Regions from separate parts of the Homo sapiens genome. Here region 1 is linked to region 2. Evidence: promoter capture Hi-C in 16 types of primary human blood cells and fetal thymus (Javierre and others, 2016). All regions are on one chromosome and are shown on one strand. Each heading gives the region's core, a stretch centred on a gene start or on the middle of the fragment in contact. The rest is flanking DNA. Distances are from core to core; before and after follow the strand shown. Region 1 overlaps TKTL1 (transketolase like 1). Region 2 holds the start of G6PD (glucose-6-phosphate dehydrogenase).

Region 1 (3,432 bases), core at 742-3,241, 220 kb before region 2:
GGATGAAGCATTACAAGTTATTGTGGCAAAAGTTAATGTTTTAACATTCTATTCGGGCTTTCTAGTCAATGTGAGTCAGTGCTCCTGCCGTGAGTTAATGTTCTGTCTGCACAGAACAAGTCAGTGAGTATTGGGGAATCTTCCAAGGGGATTGGTGTGATGGCATGGGGGAGCTTGTCCTTCAGGGCAGCCCCAAGGTCCTGCTGGGACCTGTCGTCCACTGGTTGTAGATGCTCACCCCTTTCTCCAAAGCCTGTGTTTTTAGTAGAAAGAGCTGTCCTCTTCACACCCCTCCTTCACTTCTTTCAACGTCTGTTGTTGGAAATTCATTGTTTGCTTTTCTAAACCATGGCTCCATTTATGCCCTAGGGGATGTGCTTCATTCGGACCACCCGACCAGAAACTATGGTTATTTACACCCCACAAGAACGCTTTGAGATCGGACAGGCCAAGGTAAGGGCTTACGCGCTCCTGCGTTATTCAGTATCATCTCCTGTAAAAAGAACACTTCTGAATCTATCACCAGCTATCTTCAGAGTTGAGACATCATCCTTTCTTTGCTCTCATTTTTTTAAAAAACAGTTGTGACCTTTACCTGCTTTTCCTTGGGAAGGAACATTCTATGAATTTCAGCTTAGCCTGAACTTTTCTGCTTTCCAAATGGAGTCTTTTGTTGTTGTTGAGTTCAAAGATAGTAACATGAAGCCACTTGAGCGGTCGTGGCTATAATTTATCTTGGCCGCAAGCTAAACAAAACAGAAGCCAGCGCTTTGGGAGGCCAAGGCGGGAAGATTGCTTGAGGCCAGGAATTCCAGAGCAGCCTGGGAAACATAGCGAGATTCCCATCTTTACAAAAATTTTTTAAACTAGCCGGGTGTGGTGGCATCCACCTGTGGTCTCAGCTACTCAGGAGGCTGAGGAAGGAGGATAGAGGAGCGCAGGAATTCAAGGCAGCAGTGAGCTATGATGGATCACACCACTGTACTCCAGCCTGGGTGACAAGAGTAAGACCCTATCTCTAAAAACAAGACAAAAAATAATAGAAATCACTTGAAATGAATAATCTGTTAGGTTCAGATTTTACAGATCTAAGGCCAGGAATAAAAGGGAACATGATCTCTGGTATTCTCACAAAAGCCCTGAGAAGTTCAGATTATCAGTCCTATCTGTAGATGAGGATTGGAGAAAGTAAGTGTCTTACTTAAGGGTTTACAGCTTGTGAGTACCAAGACCAGAATCCAGGCCTGAGTAGTGAGCCCAGTCTCCCCAGGTCTGCCCACCACGCTGACCATCCCCTGCTCAGCCTGCCTGTCAGGGCCATGCATAGAGAAAAGCAGAAACGTCTATGGAGAAAATAAGTGACTCTGCTCATCACCTAGGGAGTGGGGCTTGTAGACATTTTGGCATGCTTCCTTCCTGTCTTTGTTCTAGGCATACATGTATATTTTACACAGTTGAGATCATACTGAATAGAAAGGTTTGCCCATAGCCACTCTTGAAAGAGCAGCAGGTAACATCCAATTTGGTTGCTAAGGACTAGGCTGCTCCAGAATTCACAGTTGCAAGTACTCAGAATGGCCAGAGTGCTGCCATAAAGCAGGTGTTTCCAGAACTGTCCACTGTGTGCCATAACGTAGCTGGAAAACGCCACCAAATGGAAAAGTTAGTGTTCACCTTTGGTGTTAACTACAGGTTCTGTTTCTATGGGGAGGGTCTCTTGACATTCACATGGTTTGCAGAGCTTGCTTATTTCTGTCGTCTCTTTTCTAATAATTTTCCTGTCCTGACAAAAGCAAGTAAATTTACTGATAGTAAAGGATGTGAGATAAATGTGTGTGATAACATGCATGGCATGGATCGTTAAAGGGCTGGGCTTTGAAAAGAGGACATGGATATGTGTGCATGCGTGTATAAGTATTTTAAGAGGCCAGGACATCCTTAAAGAATGGGGTGGCTCAGAAACCCTTTCTGTACTATCAGCAATGGTTCTTAAGCTACAGGGAAACCTATACAGAGGGGAAGTGGAGAATAATTCCAGATGCCTCCGATGGGTAGCTTTGGAGGCAACAATCTATGAAAGAAGCCCAGGAACTCTGTCTTTGCTTGCAGAATAGTACGTTGTCGAGAGCGAGGGCTTTGATGTCAGCCCCGCCTGGCTGTGGGTCCCAGCCCTGCCCTGGGCCACTTCCTCCTGCTCTGAGATTTGCTTTCCTCAGCTGCAGAACGGTTGTGCCACTGAACAGATCTTACAGGGAGGCTGTGAGGGTTCTCAGAGTTCAGGCACACAAGATCTTAGCACTCAGCGTGTTGCCAATGCCCAGAATGTTCTCATTAACATGTTAGTCACTGGAGTCCAATCTTTGCATGCCATAGTGAGCTCTCAAACCAGACTCCTGATGGGTATGTGGCGTATCCATGCTCCAGGACAGCTGGAGCAGTGTAATTTCCTATCAAAAAGTATGTGTCCTGGCTTGTAAATGCATCTGATTTTTTTAGTAGTGAGTTATTAAGGAGTGAAATTGTTAGAATTGGGGGATAGCGGCATAGCAAAGTGCCTTCCACTTTGACATGCATTCTGTGTGTAGTAACCACGGCATTCTGTTTTGCTGGCACTATACCAGGTCCTCCGCCACTGTGTCAGTGACAAGGTCACAGTTATTGGAGCTGGAATTACTGTGTATGAAGCCTTAGCAGCTGCTGATGAGCTTTCGAAACAAGGTCAGTTGGTTGAGTATGAGCATTGAAGTTCAAGCTGGGAAGAGGTAGGACTTCAGCTACCTCCTGTGCCCTGAGTGCTCTTTTTATTTTTATCCCTGCATGTTATTCTGAGTCTCTTTCTTGTACCAAGCTGGTTTTTGCTGTTCTGCAGATATTTTTATCCGTGTCATCGACCTGTTTACCATTAAACCTCTGGATGTCGCCACCATCGTCTCCAGTGCAAAAGCCACAGAGGGCCGGATCATTACAGTGGAGGATCACTACCCGCAAGGTGTGTGTGGGCATTGAGAATGCTTTGGAAGGTTTTGGTGTTTTTGTTTCCTTGATTGGCCACATGGCATGCTCTCAGGCATCACCTATAGTCTACCTCTCACCCAGCATGGCTTTGTTATTTGATGTTCACTAAGCGTGGGGCCATACTCATACACATCTGTGTGTCCCCAACAGAGTGCACAGTGCCCAGTCACCAGGGCGGGTCAGTGGCAACACAGAGGAGTGGCTATTGCAGGCAAGCGAGGTGTCATGAAAAGCATCGCAGTTTCTTTGGGTTTGGAATGATGAATAGTATGCCCCAGGCCAGGCGTGGTGGCTTACACCTGTCATCCCAGCACTTTGGGAGGCCGAGGCAGGTAGAGATCACTTGAGGCCAGAAGCTCAAGACCAGCCTGGTCAACATGGTGAAACCCCATCTCTACTAAAAATACAAAAATTAGC
Region 2 (3,591 bases), core at 1,092-3,591:
GGCTGGTGTCAAACTCCTGACCTCAGGCGATCCACCTGCCTCGGCCTCCCAAAGTGCTGGGAATACAGGCGTGAGCCACCGTGCCCGGCCAGGTATGGCTCTTCTGAGGGGACCAGGCTGGGGCTGGGGCTGAGGCCAAGCCCAATCTACTGTGGGCTCCACCTGGTACCTCTCCTGGGTCTCAGGCTTATGGGGAGTCAGAGGACAATGGCCCCTCCTTACTCTGCCACTGGCAGAGCCCTTCTCCCTCGGCTGCCTCCTCATTCCCTTTTGGCTCTCCTTTTCTAAGTTCTGATCAGAAGTACAAAGGTGTCAAGGAGTAGGTTTGACAAAGTGTGACAGCGCGTTGTTCTATGTGAACAAAGAACCACTGAGCTCAGCCAGCACTGAGGGGCGCACGATGTGGAAGAACTAACTAGTTTTGATAGAGCTCCTGCTCAAGGTTACAAGGTAAGTTAATGGCAAAGATGGTCATACAGTAATGAGCAGAGAGATTCTTGAGTGCATCCAGGGTTAAAAGTGAAAACTGAGACCACGTGTAATTTGAGATGAAGCCCTTGTTCCACCAGCCCCTGCACAGTCTCACTGCCCCATGGGACACAGGGGAGGGTGCTCTAGTCTCGGGCGATGGCTGTCCTAGGACCACCCCTCCCTCCCCTCCCATGGAAATCCTCATGCTATACTATTCTTTTGTCTTTCCTATGAGTGCAGAATGGCGGTTCTACAAGCTGGACAATTGGGGCCAGGTGGGGTGAGGCAGAGCTCCTTGGTAGGCTTTCGAAATTGAGGCAAAGAGACAGTGTTCAAAGAAAAGCTAAGTGTTTGTATCGACGGAACTTGAAGTGTTAGTGAAGAGGCAGAGATCAGGCCTCAGATCCTGCCTTTGGAACTCATTTGTTAAGGCATGAACAGGTCTGAAAAAACTACAGAATGAATAGCATTCCCTGTTTTCCCCAAGAAGTCCATCTAGACAGTCCCTAAAGAGCCTGCAACTCCAGGATTAAGGGCTACATTCAGCGGCTAGGCACAGGGTTCAGAAACGTCCTGCAGCCGGGCGTGGTGGCTCATGCCTGTCATCCCAGCACTTTGGGAGGCCGAGGCGGGCGGATCACTTGAGGTCAGGAGTTTGAGACCAGCCTGGTCAACATGGTGAAACTCCGTCTCTACTAACAATACAAAAATTAGCCGGGTGTGGTGGTGCATGCCTGTAATCTCAGCTACTTGGGGGGCTGAGGCAGGAGAATCGCTTGAACCCAGGAGGCCGAGGTTGCAGTGAGCCAAGATGGCGCCACTGCACCCCATCCTGGGCGACCAGAGCAAAACTCCGTCTCCAAAAAAAAAAAAAAAAAAAAGTCTTGCAAGTGCATATGCACACCAGGTAGAGCCGGGATGATCCTGGCGCACTAGCAGGAGCGGGAGGAGGAGCTCAACTTAGCAGAGCCTGTGGGGCCCTGCAACAATTAGTTGGAAAAGCTGAGGCATGGAGCAGGCACTTCCTGGCTTTTAAGATTGGGGCCTGGGAGATACTCACCGATGCACCCATGATGATGAATATGTGTGTATCCGACTGATGGAAGGCATCGCCCTGGAAAAGCTCTTCCCGCAGGATCCCGCACACCTGGGTCCGGCTCAGGGCCACCTGCTCTGCCATGACGCTGTCTGGTGGAAGAAAGGCTCGTTAACAAGGCAGAAGAACAGGAGAGCATTGAGAAGTTAGCCCCTTTCTTGAGAGTTCCTCTGGGGTCTCACACCAGGGTGACACCTGATTGCCCAAATCACTCCTTGTGAACGGCTGGGCATTGGGGAGTGGTTGATGGGTTAGAAACTGCTGGCTCTGGGCTCCAGCCACTCTCTCCTAGGCAGCCTTCATTCAGGGTGTACATTACAAAATTACTCAAAGCATTGGTGTATTCCGACTACAGCATCAATTCTGGACAACCGAGTAAAATCCTTGTGGGGCATGGAACTGCGTGCCCAGGACCATCTCATTCCCGACTGTAGCGGGAACTCCACAATGACCTGGAGCATGGGAGATGGTGCAGATGCTGGAGTTCAGCTCCAGCCCTCCCCTTGCCAAGCTGGGTGACCCCGGTCGGCAAGTCCCCTTCGCTCTCGGGGTCTCAGGGGCTCAAGAGAGGAGGTGCGGGGTATAAAGGGATTGGTTAAGACCCTCTCGATTCTGCTCGGTTCTCAAGCACAACAAACAGCGTGTATTTTACCGCCGCGCGGCGCAGCGCGGGACAGTACGCTCCTCCGCCTGCGCGGCGCCCGCCCGGCCGGTTACCTGCGCTTCGTCGTCGTCGCCCTCCGCGCTCGCAGCCCCGAAGTGTACGACCGTTTCCGGGGGCTGAGCCCCGCCGGCCCATTTAATCGGCGGGGGCGGGGGCGGGCGCCTGGGCTGAGCGGACCCGCCTCAGGCGAGGCGTGCGGGGCGGGGCCTCGGCCACCACCCCTCGTGCGGGCGGGGCGGGGCGAGGGCAGGTGCGCGCGCATCCCAGGCCAGCCCCTGCCTCTCGGGCACCTGCGCTGGAGGCCGGCCCGCCGGCTGCCTGCCATACCCGCTGCCGCTGCTCTGCATCCCCAATTCCGGCGGGCACGGGTGCAGCTCCGCGTAGTGCTCCCGCATCCCCATCGCCGGCCCGGCCCCGCCCCTACTGTCCGGTTTCCCCGCCTGCCCCGGCGGCCTCGCGCGCTCGCGGAGGGCTCCACTTCCGCCGGCAGCGTGGCCACGCCTCCTCTGGGCTGTCCCTCGGCTCCTGGGCGGGGCCTTCTGCCGCGCCACTCCCCCGGGAACCCTCGCCTGTTCGCGGGTCAAGCCGGCCCTATTGGGCAGTCTCTTCTTGATTCCTCCCCCGGAGAGGGCGGGGCGGCCGAGCGCCCCGAGGCTAGACGCCGCCGTCCGAGAGACGAGGGGGCGTGTAGGCGGTGACGCCCTGCAAAGTGGCCGGCGTGCTTATCATTACCGAGCTTCCGCGGGCCTGCAGAGCCTGGCGGACTCAGACTTCTCTCCGGAGCGGGATGCGGCCCTACCGCGGCCTCACACTTCTCGCCGGCTTCCCGAGTTCTCGGGGGCGGGGCTTGTGTTTTTACTTCCGGATCCCACAGCTATGACACCGGAAGCCGGAAGCGTGGTAGGGAAGGGCGACCGCGAAACTGGGACTTTCTCGGAGCGCCGGGGCCCTACCAGCGTTCACAGTCCGCCGCTCCCACCCTTCTCACGTCTGACGGACTCTGCTGACAGGTGTGGTCCTTTTCCCCAAAGACAGGGTTCCATCCGTGGGCGTTCCGCCGCCTCCGAAACTTCCCCCGGACGTTCAGGCTCCCCCCTCTTTTTTGGGCCCCAGCCCGTTCCTGCTCCGCGCTTCTGGAGCACTGGCCAAGGCGGGCCGATTCAGGACCCAGGTTACTTGGGCGGCGAGCTGGACTGTTTCTACTCCTCCCTCCTCCTCCACTGCGGGGTCTGACCCTACTCCTTGTGTGAGGACTCCTCTAGTTCAGAGACATATTCTGTTCACCAAACTTGACTGCGCTCTATCGAGGTCGTTAAATTCTTCGGAAATGCCTCACATATAGTTTGGCAGCTAGGTATCT

Evidence for each region. The method cuts DNA at HindIII sites, captures the fragments that hold promoters and counts their contacts. A CHiCAGO score of 5 or more calls a contact.
Region 1: a fragment that was not itself captured here is called in contact with the fragment with the promoter of G6PD in region 2 in 2 of 17 cell types (non-activated CD4 T cells and naive CD8 T cells); the score reaches 7.5 in non-activated CD4 T cells.

What each region holds. Positions count from the first base shown.
Region 1 is chrX:154,324,970-154,328,401 of GRCh38, forward strand. It overlaps TKTL1 (transketolase like 1), which reads left to right. Exons shown (of 13, transcript NM_012253.4): 10 at 370-453; 11 at 2,622-2,718; 12 at 2,870-2,989. Among named protein-coding and RNA genes, the nearest start is that of TKTL1, 31 kb to the left of the region's middle. The HindIII fragment of the contact is 6,606 bases long and covers 1-3,432 here.
Region 2 is chrX:154,544,505-154,548,095 of GRCh38, forward strand. G6PD (glucose-6-phosphate dehydrogenase) reads right to left here and starts at 2,342. Exons shown (of 13, transcript NM_001360016.2): 1 at 2,285-2,342; 2 at 1,532-1,659. The coding sequence starts at 1,651. IKBKG (inhibitor of nuclear factor kappa B kinase regulatory subunit gamma) reads left to right here and starts at 3,116. Exons shown (of 10, transcript NM_001099857.5): 1 at 3,116-3,241. RefSeq lists enhancers at 1,378-1,921, 3,224-3,503 and a silencer at 2,224-2,783. The HindIII fragment of the contact is 7,888 bases long and covers 1-3,591 here.